Regions from separate parts of the Homo sapiens genome. Here regions 2 and 3 are each linked to region 1. The links are contacts of gene promoters, found by promoter capture Hi-C in human tissues and cell types (Jung and others, 2019). All regions are on one chromosome and are shown on one strand. The core of a region is centred on a gene start or on the middle of the fragment in contact, and the rest is flanking DNA. Distances in the headings are between cores, read along the strand shown. Region 1 holds the start of MRPL14 (mitochondrial ribosomal protein L14). Region 2 has its middle 22 kb from the start of VEGFA. Region 3 overlaps LOC105375070 (a long non-coding RNA gene).

The links. The method cuts DNA at HindIII sites, captures the fragments that hold promoters and counts their contacts. A contact is called where the count stands out against the background at its distance.
Region 2: a contact is called between a fragment that was not itself captured here and the fragment with the promoter of MRPL14 in region 1, in 2 of the 25 tissues and cell types used here (lymphoblastoid cells and spleen).
Region 3: a contact is called between a fragment that was not itself captured here and the fragment with the promoter of MRPL14 in region 1, in 2 of the 25 tissues and cell types used here (IMR-90 fibroblasts and mesendoderm cells).

What each region holds. Positions count from the first base shown.
Region 1 is chr6:44,125,566-44,129,581 of GRCh38, forward strand. It overlaps MRPL14 (mitochondrial ribosomal protein L14), which reads right to left and starts at 1,887. Exons shown (of 3, transcript NM_032111.4): 1 at 1,779-1,887. It overlaps TMEM63B (transmembrane protein 63B), which reads left to right and starts at 1,989. Exons shown (of 24, transcript NM_018426.3): 1 at 1,989-2,113. RefSeq lists silencers at 1,620-1,679, 1,710-1,759, 1,780-2,179, 2,220-2,329, 2,510-2,669. The HindIII fragment of the contact is 18,233 bases long and covers 1-4,016 here.
Region 2 is chr6:43,790,093-43,794,108 of GRCh38, forward strand. No RefSeq gene overlaps it. Among named protein-coding and RNA genes, the nearest start is that of VEGFA, 22 kb to the left of the region's middle. The HindIII fragment of the contact is 5,264 bases long and covers 1-4,016 here.
Region 3 is chr6:43,839,300-43,843,315 of GRCh38, forward strand. LOC105375070 (a long non-coding RNA gene) reads left to right here. Exons shown (of 3, transcript XR_007059588.1): 2 at 3,212-3,334. Among named protein-coding and RNA genes, the nearest start is that of LINC02537, 11 kb to the right of the region's middle. The HindIII fragment of the contact is 4,197 bases long and covers 1-3,880 here.

The sequences.
Region 1 (4,016 bases), core at 637-3,136:
GAATTGCTAGATCCCAGGAGAAGCTGCAGTGAGCTGAGATCGCACTGCTGCACCCAGATCTCCCCAGCCTGGGCAAGAGAGACTGTCTCAAAAAAAAAAAAAAAAAAAAAAAAAAAGGCCTTCTAGTGATCCTCAGAAATCCAAAAACCAGACAACTATGGCTTCCACTTCCATTTTTCAGATATCCATTATAATACTATTTGACCTCAAAGTGAATTTTATTGTTCCACACAAGCAACAGATTACACCAATTTCACAACTCCCAGAATCCAAACCTACAAAGACCCTTCCCACCAAGCACTTTACCAAAAACGGGCTTCATCTCCATCTTCCTTTCTTTCACAGTTGAAAAACTGCCCTTCCTAATTAAGCCAACCAACTTCTTACCTCAATAAAATCCTTGTTTTTCAGTAGCACGTACAGTATTTCCAGTGATGAACAGTGAACTGTCTTTCGTCTCACACAGTAACCTCCGTGAAGAAGATCCACCTTGTTCTTTACTGTATATTCCTGGCATGCTAACTGCATCCTCAGACAATTTTAAGTGACTGAAAACTCAGGCAAAGAAAGGCAAGAGGGCAAATAGAAGGGCACAGGAGACAACGCTTTTCAAATTTTTCTCACTGCGACCTACAGAAACACACTGTAGAACACCTCCTAGTACACTCACACGTGTGTGTACACCTGAAGTGTCAAGAAACAATACCCTAAGTGCAACACCCTCTGATATTTTCTATTTCAAGTGGCCGTGATCTACTAAACTGATTTCCAACTCACCAATAGGATTCAGTTTGAAAAACACTGCAATAAATCAAACCTTACAGTTGCATTCCACAAGCTACTAATGAACTCTTGAAAATCCAGCATACAGCAGAGACGCTGACCAACTACAAGATCCAAACCCCCCAGGTGGGCAGTGTCCTTCTGTTCAGCAGTGGCAGTTCCCCACCACCACCAGCCCTGAGAGTTAATTATCTCCCAAACTCCCAGAGTTTCCCAAGTAGCCTGAGGTGTCTGTCATATGCCCTTTTAACCTCTTTATAAATTCAGTCCCGTCCGTCTCTTACGGTGGCAAAGTTCATTTATCGTCGGCTGTGGAAAGCAATACTTCCTTTTTGTCCCCTCCAGGAACCAGAAATTAAATGACCAGGTTGGTGCCCGTTGTGCCTTTATGATCTATTTGTGTGGGTGATATATAGAAAGAGTCTCAGTCTCTCCCTTCATCTTTCCAGTCTTAATCACTGGTAGATGCAGTCTCTGGTGAAATAAGAAACCAGGGAACCCCCTGGCCTGGGGGAGGGCGCACTCATCAGCGTTGACAGAGTGAAAGCAAAAACTCAATCCTCACACCACAGAGGCGTCTGGCTAACTCATCTCCAGACCTAAGTTGGGAAAGGGGAGGGGAGCGCGGAAAGCGGAGAAGCCGGAGGAGACGCTCCGGAGTGACCAGCGACGGCTGAACGCAGCCCGCCCTCCCCAAGTCGACGCCGCAACCCGGGGAAAGCAGGTGAGCGCCGGCCACGGACTTGGGGGTCGCAGAAGCAGCCCACGGAGAGCGGAAGGGAGGAGGATCCGGGTAAGGGGCCTCCCCTCCCCGTCGGGACCCCCCTCCCCGTCGGGACCCCCCCCTCCCCGTCGGGACCCCTCCCACTGACGCTCTGCCTCCCACTCTGGCCTCTCCTCACTCACCCCGGGGAGTGGGCCTCCCCTACTGCAGAGAAAGGAAGAGGAGAAGGAGGGAATGAGGACTTAACGCCCACCCCTGCCCCCCACCATACCGCTCTCGCCGCCCGGGAAAATCCCGCCGCGGGCCCCACCAGCCAAGCGCCGCCTTCGCCCCACGCGGCCTCTTCCTAGCGCCTGCGCGCCAGGCCCAGCCCGGCGGACGCGATCTGAGAGTGCGCGCGCACCTTGCGTGCGCCGGCGTGCGGGGCGGGACCTGCGGGGCTCCGCCCCCTCCCCCTCCCTCCCCCCGCTCCCCCTCCCCCATACACTGCCGCGGCCGCCGCAGGAGCCCGGAGCTCGAGCCGCCCAGCGACTCCCCCTCCCCCTCCCCCAGCCCCGCCCCGCCCCAACCCGGGGCTCCGAGCCGGAGCCGAGTCTGCGCCTGGGGGTGAGTACGCGACCCCTACCCAGCCCTCGCTCTTTTCTTCGAAGATCCCACCACCACCCAAAGAAAAAACCTGGACTCAGCTGCGCGTCCCCTCCCTTCAACCTCCTGCGGGACCCAGAGGTGCCCGGGCCCGCGGGACCCAGGGGTGGCGCGCGCTGCCCCCAACCCCGCACCATCCCGAGCCAAATGTGAGTCCTCCAACCCCTGCCGGAGGTCCAGATACGCGCCGCCGGCTCTCCCCAGCCCCGGGGAGATCCCAAAGGGTGGGACCCCCGCCCCCGGCCCCCGAGTGCCACTCTTCTCCCACCTGCCCGGTGCAGGTGCGCGTCCCCTGCGCGACCCTCGGGGGTGCCAGCTGCGCCCCGCCTGTCCGCCGCCGTTTGGGGAACTAGCCGCCCCCGCCCCCGAGTTTTGGACCCCGGGGTCGCCAAGTCCGATGCCTTCTGTGCCTTTTATTTTTTCTGCTGCTCCCGGGGGCGAGTACACCCGAAGCCGGTCCGGGGTAAGGGCTCGGGCTCGGGCAAGGGCAGGGTTCGCAGGTGCTGGCACGAGGCCGGCCGCTGCCCCCGGCTCTGGGGACTGACTGGTCGGCGGGCTGGAGAGGCGGCCGGCCCCGGGAGCGTGTCCTCTCCTTGCGCCCCACACAGTGCAGTTCATTCATGAGCCGCCCGGGCCTGCGTTGGAGGGTGCGGTGGGGAAAAGATTCAGACGCGAAACCGAGAGTGGGGCAAAGGCCCTGTTGTGGGGAGGGGGCGCCGCTTTGTCCCTCCTGGCTGTCTTGACCGCCTAAGGCGGACAGTCCCAAAGCTTGGCACCTTGTTCCCCAGAAAAGGAAAGGACGCTTGGGAAGTGGGGAGGAGAGGTCAGAGGGGCTGGCTGCCCTTGGGGCGCTGTGCTGCCCCCTGCCTGGGTCCCCTGGGCAGAGGTCTGGCCGCTCGGGGCAAGCCTGAGCACTCCACCGCCCTGGGGGGCTGGGGCTTGCCTACCCATTACCAGTCTGCAGCAGCCGGGGAGCAATGAGGCTGTGCCCAACACCTGCTGAAGAGGGGCCCATCCTGCCTCCCAGGCCAGGGTGAGGTGGGGAGTGGGAGTGTCAGCCAGGCTTCAAGTGGGGGTGTGCTGGCAGCGTGATTGTCCTCCAGGGCACCAGAGGGTCCAGGCCTTGGCATGCCCCAGGTGGCACATGCTGGGGCCTGCTGTTGGCTCACTCAGTGCAGTCTTGGCCTGTGGGTGGATGGGGACATGGCAAGGCAGAAGGCAGGCAGTGGGTAACTAAGAACCCCCTTGGACATCATTCAAGTTCTCTCCAAGTATAGCAGAGTCTTAGAGACCTGCGTTCAAATTCTAGCTCTACTATTCTTCAGCTGTGTGACCTTGACAAGTTACTTAACCTGTCTGAACCTCAGTTTTCATTAAAAAGTGTTTATGCCTATAATTCCAGCACTTTGGGAGACTGAGGCGGACAGATCACTTGAGGTCAGGAGTTCGAGACCAGCCTGGCCAACATGGTGAAACCCCATCGCTACTAAAAATACAAAAATTAGCCGGGCATGGTGGCACACACCTGTAATCCCAGCTACTCAGGAGGCTGAGGCAGGAGAATGGCTTAAACCTGGGAGGCGGAGGTTGCAGTGAGCCGAGATTGTGGCACTTCACTCCAGCCTGGGTGACAGAGCAAGACTGTCTCAAAAAAAAAAAAAAAAAGAAAGAAAAGAAAAAGAAAAAAAGTGTGGTTACTACCACCTCCTTACAAGTTTTATCATGGGAATCAAACAAGGTAACAGAAGTAAAGAGCTTGGCATCCTTCCTGGTAATTGATCAATAATGGGTTATCATCTCTGAACTTCTGACCCATAACTCTCCCATGCCTCCACCTCCCAGGCTACCACAGATGGATGGGGTA
Region 2 (4,016 bases), core at 1,030-3,529, 340 kb before region 1:
AGTGCTGGCCAAACCCAGGGCTGAAATCCAGACTTCCCCAAGTGTGGTAAGGCAAGGCAAGGCAAGCAAGAGATGTCTCCAGGGGCTGGGGCTCGTCAGTGGAAGATCGGAAACCTAAGCATGCAAGAGATTGCAACACACGGCCTTAGATGAGAGAAACAGCCTTGAAACAGACCACGGAGAAAAGAAGGAGAACATGAAAATGCCACCTCCCCCAGTTGTATAAGACCTGCCCAGATACCCCCCTGGAGCCATTCCCAAGGATCTCTCCAGACCTAAGCAAGTCCCAGGGCCTACCCTGCCTTCCCAGATCATCTCCTCTCTGTGGGACTCACACCGCCTGGTCTAGCCACTGTTTCCTCTGGAGCTACCCAGTGCTCCTTCTCCTCTGTCTAGCCTGAGACTCTCCCTTCTCCAAGGAGCTGCCCATCCTGCTCCCGGCCCTGAAAGGCCTTTAGAGAGCCTGCTGGCCCACTCTCCTCCCTCCCACAAGAACTGAAAGGCTGACGGGTGGATCCATACAAAACTTGGTGATTCTGGATCAATTTCGTGTGTTAGGATCATTGTGGTGGCCAGTGTGCAAACATGGCTGTCAACAGTTCTTTCCATCCCTGTGCCCACGTGCTTTGCCCCCCAAGAAGTAGAGTCTATTTTTCCTCTTTTTGAATCTGGGCCGGCTTTATGACTTGCTTTGAATAAAAATGCAACACAAGAGAGATATTCTGGGACTTTCAGGTCTAGGCATTGTAGTGTCAATTTTTGTCCTCTTGTAAGGCAGCTGCCAGGCTATAACTGTCCAAATACTCTACTGGAGAGAGAGACTGTGGAGAGACAGAGAGAGATAGGGGAAGAGAAACAGAGAGATAGAGGAAGAGAGAGACAGAGATGGAGAGAGAGAGAGAGGCTCAGCCAACTCCCAGCTGTTCCAACCACCTGAAGCTGAGGCACCAGACATGTGAGTGAAGTCACTTTGGATTCCCTAGCGCCAGGTGAGCCACTCTAGCCAACAACACATAAAGTAGAGAGAAGCCATCCCTGCCCCAGTTTAGTGAGTTGTAAGCAAATGTATGCACTGTGTTGTTTAAAGCTACTAAGTTTTGGGGTGGTTATTATTCCTCAATAATAACTGAGCCATCTAACAAAACAGTCATTTCCTTGGCATTAGGGTGTTTGTCCCTTCCCATCCATAAGGTTTAACTGGTATTCATGAAGTGGATGGAGGGATGTTCAAGGAAAGAAGGGTGTGTTTATAAGGGAATCAGAGACCAGGCATCTGCCATGGTGGTAAGTTTGGTGAGAAGTCAGGGTAAGGGCTGACCCAGGCAGGACAAAATATTGTCCTAATTTCTAGAGTGAGGAGAGTGACTTGGTTGTACTGGAGTCTTACCAAGAGAAAGTGGGCCTCACCTACAGCATGGGGGATAGAGGATAGAGGATGAGAAGAACTGCCAGAGAGCACAGCATGAGGGATTTGGAGGAAAAGACTGTGGAATCCTTTTCTTCCCTTCTTCCTTCCATCCTCCAGCGTTTATGGAATACCAGCCATATGTACTATGCCCTGGTGCAGGGATGGTCTCTCATTTACTAGGAGGGGCTTTAGCATGAGCCAGCCTAGAGGTGGGGGATGGATGGGCTGACCCTTGGAAGGCTCCATCAGGTTGGCTTCAGAGTTGCTGGGAGAGAGATAATTCAGCTACATCCGCAGGACATTGTCCATTAGGACATGGGACTAGGGGAGGGCAGGGAAGGAATCAGTAAATATTTATAATCTGCCTAGAAAAGGAAAATGCAAGGCAAAGACAGGGCTTGACTGAGCATCTGCTGAGAAGGAACAGAAGGGGTGACGTGGAAGGGGAAGAGCTAGAACCCAGGGAGCAGTGAGTCAGAGGAAAGGGCCCACTAGGCACAGGTGCCTATGGTGCAAGGCTGGGCTTGAGTCTCCCAGGACAAGAGGGGGCCGGGATCTGACAAAGATTTTCAAAGGCTGCGTTTGCCTTTGGGGAGTTAGTCTCTCTATGAGGGAAGTGCAAGTACTGCTCCCAGGGAGCTCCCAGTCTCAAGGAGGATTGACATGGCCCTGGCCCTCAGGATGCTCCCGGTCCTTACAGAGTATCTAATCTGAGGGAGGAGACAGAGCTTCTGCCATCAGACATTTCTTTGGATACTAGTTTCGGGAAGGCACCACCCTGCCACCATTTGGCTGTTGCACTGTTCGGAGTCACCGGATGCTGGTACCCCATCCTTCCCTCCACTCTCGGTGCGCATTCACAATGCTCACAGGGCTTCTCTTGTGTTTGTCATCAGCCATGCGTGGCTCACCAGCCTGGGCCCTGATTTTCTCCACACATCCCCTGACGGTCCCTGGGTCTGGCTCCAAGTGGAGCAGATGCTAGCACATGTCCCTTTCCTGGGCTTCTCCTGTCTCCTCTCCTGGAGAGGCCTGAGAACCCTGTTCATCAGCTCCTCAGACTTCCTGCAGGAAGACTGTTCCCCTACTCCCTGTCTGTAGCTCATCCAGCTGTCCTGGGGCTGGAAGCTTCTGAGGAGGTGATGCCCTGTGAGGCCCGGCCATAGGGACCTCTCTTTGGATGCCTCTGCAGAGCCTAATCTGGGCCGCCCTAAGTCCCATCAAGACTTCTGACAGATCTAGATTGGAATCCTGGGTCTGCCACTGGAGAAATTACTTGCCTGCACCTCAACTTTCTCATCTAAAATGGGCACAGTAACACCTACATGATGGAGTTTGAGGGCCTGAAGTGACATTGACATGTAAAAGTACCTCATGAAGTGACTGGTACATAGGATGTCCTAAAAAAAAAAGTCATTATCATCTTGTTGTTATTCTAGTCTCCATGCCAATGCTTTTTCCTCTCTGAGTGCCCCCTTTAGTACATTTTGGTTGTTTGTGGGGCTTTTTTCCCACTTTTTAAAAAAACCTGAAATGGTCTGGCTGGATTTTATAACCATTTTTGCAAGCATGCATCCTTACTCTCCTGCTGAGGAGTGAGGCACGCCAGGGCAGGTTCAGCCCTGGAGCCCAGCAGTGAGAGAAAGGGATTGGACTGAAGGGAAAAGAGGGTGTGGAGAGCCCTTCCTGGTAGGGATGATGCCCTGTGGCTTTGAACCCAGGACCAGGTACAAGGTGGGCTTGCATGAGTATTTGTAGAATTAATGAACAAATGAACAGGAGCAGAATGCATGGCCAATCTTCTCTTAGGTCCCCCAAACACACTGGGAACCTCCAGTCTGATGGAGGAGGCCGGATGTCCACCCTTATACACACAGCTGTGCTCTGGGCAAGAAATGCTGAGGCTGGGCAGGGCTGCTTGGGCCAGGCTGCAGTGGACGGATGCCCCCAGGGCTGTCTTCAGAAGCTCCCTCAAGGTGGAAACCTGTCTGTTCCAGGATGTTTAGGTGAAATGATTTGTGGTATAGGTATGGAAGGGCCTCTGGGACCCAGGCAGGGGAGAAGCCCTTCCCTGGGACTTTGGAGAGCTGGGAGCTGCCATCTCCTGGGGAGGCCACAAGAGGATGTCTTCTGGGGAAATATTCAGGGAGGGTGTTTGCTTTTGGCTCCCAAAGGCATCTCCACCCCCACCCCAGGTCTCCCCTACTTCACTCCCCAGGGTTCCCTCCCAGCTGCTCTCCTGGCCAGCCTGAGATAGAGAGAGGATGGCAGGGCTTGCTGGGCCCCTGAGGCTGGGACTGGTGGGGAAGGTCTGGCCCCAGCAGATGCCCTCCTGAGGCGTCCTCGCTTCTGGAGCGAGACTCCTACTATAGATCTTCTTTCACACGGGTACATCCACACGGGCTCGCACACACACAAGTGTGACAGGGGTCACTATTGCCAGTCACGGGGCAGCCGCCTGGTTGGGTAAGGGTTCCTAGGGGCTGGGTGAGGCCCAGCTGGGGGAGCCAGCATCTCGGGACGAGCCCCCATGGGGCTGGGGGTTGGGGGCTGACCTGGCTGCGGTCCCATGACCCAGAGCTGCCCTCTGGGAACTGCTGACTGTTCA
Region 3 (4,016 bases), core at 532-3,031, 290 kb before region 1:
AGGGGAGGCAATGCCTTTAATGATGGCAGGGGACCTGTCCCCTGTCCTCCATGTGTGTATACCTGGGTTTTTCCCCAGCACCTGGTTCACAGGATGAGAGGCCTCAGTCCATCTCAGACACTAAGCCCCATGGCACCAGGGCCTGGGCAGGTAATAAAAGAGACTCAGCAGGACTGGGAGGGCTTGCTGGCATTGTTCGGACACTTGGCATGCATCTGTTTCTTTCCTCTCTGCTGTGGTCCTCACTGGCAGCTGGGTGGAGAGAGAACCCACTTGGGAGGCAAGAGCCCTGTGGGCCACCTCAGCCCTGTCTCTGCCCTACCCCACCCCTGAGCGAGGCACAGCTGCCTCTGGCCTTACTTATGGTTCTGGAAGCTTCCTTGGGCCCCTTCTCTAAGACCCTTGGCTCAGGCACATCCTTCTGGGTTGGGAGGCGTCTCTTCCAGAAGGTGGGTGAGTTTGAAGATAGACTTCATGAAAATGCTATGCAATTGGCTTGCTTCTGAGAGATTTGAACAGCTAGCATTTTAACAATCTCCCAGAATTTATGAAGTAGAAAATACTTGTTTAGCATTGTCTTATTTTTAAATAATTAATTTTAGTTCAGGCGTGGAGGCTCACACCTATAATCCCAGCACTTTGGGAGGCCGAAGCAGGCAGACTGCTTGAGGTCAGGAGTTTGAGACCAGCCTGGCCAACATGGTGAAACCCCATCTCTACTAAAAATACAAAAATTTTCTGGGAGTGTTGGCAGGCGCCTGTAATCCCAGCTACTGGGGAGGCTGAGGCATGAGAATAGCTTGAACCTGAGAGGCGGAGGTTGCTGTGAGCCGAGATCGCACCACTGCACTCCAGCCTGGGCGACAGAGTGAGACCTTATTTCCAAAAAATAAATAAATGAAATAAATAAGAGATACTATATGGACACAGTGAAAAATGCAAGCGCAATAAGAATTAGGGAACCTAGGTGAAGGACATCAGCAGTTCTTATTTTTGCAACTTTTCTGTATGCTTAAAAAAATAAAAAAGTAAAATAAATAAGAAGTTAAAAACAAATTCAGACAGAAGTGTAAGCCTCTCTTCTAACCTTTCTTCTAGCCACTTACTCAGTCCTTCTCTTGGAGGCCCCTGAGTTACCAGTTTCCTGTGTATCCTTCTAAAGGTAGTCTAAAACATATACATTTATAAACTGTTTTCCTCCCACATGAATGATGACTTTTCTCCACACCGTTCTGCAACTTTTTTCTCTCACTTAACAATAATCTGGAGACCATTTGGTGTGAGTGCACAGATAGCTGGCTCATTCTTTTTCTTCACTCCAGTTTATTCTACCAAACAGATGTTTCAAATGTTTATTTGGAAGAGATTGTATAATAAGGTGGTTAAGAGCATAGTCTTTGGAGGCAGAATGCTCTCGTTCAAGCCAGTTGTTTAATGTTGAGCCAGTTACTCAATGTCTGAGTGACTCAGTTTCCTCATTTGTGATCCAAAGATAACAGCATCATCTACCTTGAAGCATTTTGTGGAGATTCAATAAGATAAAGCTTGTAAATGGCTTAGGACAGTGCCTGGTGTGCAGTAAGCACTCAATAAGTGTTCGCTGCTCCTCCTGAGGTTATTTTGCCAGACCCTTTTTGAGAGAGCTGGGCTGTTTCCAGACTTTTATTATTATAAACAATGCTGCAAACAAATAGCCTTCCCCACACGTCATTTGCTCCTTGTGGGAGTGCATCAACAGGAAAAATTCCAGGGAGTAGAATTGCTGGGTCAAAGACCGTGTGCATTTTTAATTTTGAAAGATATCATCAGGTTGTCCCCCTTAAGGGGTGGTCCCAGTCACTGGGCCACCAGCTGAGTTTGAGCCTGTTTCCTCAGCCTCACCAACAGAGTGTGTGTTTCATTTGAACATATCATTTCTCAAATTTGTTTGGGCAGAGAAGTCTGTTATGGAGTTTCTTGGGGGATCATTTGGCCTTCAAGCCCCTCTCCCCTATACCTGCCTGAGTCTGTCAAGGAGTTTGTTGGGAGAAGCCAGCCCACCATATGGTCTAGACTGGTCTACAGCCAGCAAAAGGCTCCTGAAAGTCTCTGCTAAGGTCAGCTGCATATTCCTTCAATATGTTGATTCAGGCAGGGTGCGGTGGCTCACGCTTGTAATCCCAGCACCTTGGGAGGCCGAGGCAGGTGGATCACCTGAAGTTGGGAGTTCGAGACCACCCTGGCTAACATGGAGAAACCCCATCTCTACTAAAAATACAAAAATTAGCCAGGCGTGGTGGTGCATGCCTGTAATTCCAGCTACTTGGGAGGTGGAGGCAGGAAAATCGCTTGAACCTGGGAGGTGGAGGTGGCGGTGAGCCGAGATCACGCCATTGTACTCCAGCCTGGGCAACAAGAGTGAAGCTCCATCCCCACCCCATCCCTGACCAAAAAAAAAAAAGATACAACAATATGTTGATTCAATATTACGGTGCTCACAAGTTTATACGTTGTTGGTGGCAGTCTCTTCTGGGGCCTGTTAGCATATTAAAACTATTGGTTAAATCTGATAATGCTTTAGGTTGTGCTTGTTTTTCACCATTTCATTCCTGAGCCAGGGGTTTGCAATTTCTAATCACATTTTTAACATTTTCTCACTCCTACAAAGGCACACAGACAATGCCAGTACTCAATTTGCTGTAATCATGGAAAGCCTGACTGCTCTACCTGGAATTAGACTTCCTGCTATGGATAACCTGTAAACCAACCTCCCTGCCTTCCCTTCGTGGAAAATTGAAGTTGATTATTAAAAAAAAAAAAAAAAAAAAGGTAGACTCTGTATTAAGAGGCCCTGTCATCTGAAAATGGAAACCTCACCAACACAAAATATATCAAAAGGATGAGTATTCTTTTTACAAAAAGAGTTCCTACTGAGTTAATTTTAGTGGATTTTTAGTAAAGCCTTTTTAGACAACTATAACAAGGCAGAGAGGACTGTTTGAAGGCGGCAGCTTTGAGCAGGAGAGCAGGCCTGATGTGTCTCACCAATTCTTAACTTCTGTTCACCCGCAGCTTGCTCACCCCTGATCTCATGCAGGACCGGGCTGGAATGATCCTTTGTGATTCATTCTGATTTAGGGTGGCAGCCAAACTTTCTAGGACTTTTGCGGGCTCTGTGGGCTATCCTGCATCAAAGGCTCCAATGCCTCTTTCCTCTCCTCTGACCTTGCAGATCTGACAAATGCCAAGGACTTTGCCTACGCTGGATGTGTAGCCGAAGACTGTCCCAGGCTGCTCAGAGGGGCGGAAGCAAACTCGCTGCATCTCCAGAAGCCCCTCAGAGGTCAGGTTTAAGGTGAGGGTGTCCTTGAGTGAAGGTCAAATAGGTTTCTTTTCTCCTCTCTTTTTTGAGACAGGGTCTCACTCTGTTGCCCAGGCTGGAGTACGGTGGCACGATCATGGCTCACTGCAGCCTCAACCTTCTGGGCTCAAACAACCCTCCCCACCTCAGCCCCCCCAAAAACCAGGACTACAGGGATGTACGGCCACACCTAGCTAATTAAATTTTCTTTTTTTTTTTTTGTAGAGACAGGATCTCCCTATGTTGCTTAGGCTTGTCTTGAACGCCTGAGCTCAAGTGATCCTCCTGCCTTGGCCTCCCAAAATACTGGGATTATAGGCAGGAGTCACTGTGCCCGGCCAGGTTTCTGTCTTCCCCCAATTGTTTAGTAAACTTTTTTTTCCCTCTAATTAAAAAACACACTGAGAAAACTGCACAAATCATAAGTAAATATTGCAGTGATCTTTTACCTGCAACACATCATCTAGATCAAGAAATATAGCTTTGCCAGCTTCCTGTAACCCTTGCCTGGTGTCCCCTCCCAGTTGTCACTCCCATCAAAGGCAGGCATTCTTCTGCCTTCTATTCCTGACAGTTAGTGTGGCCTGACTTTGGAACGTTGTATAAATGGAATCACATTGGATGAACTTGATTGTTTCTGGTTTCTCTGGCTCACCATTTTGAAATTCACCCATGT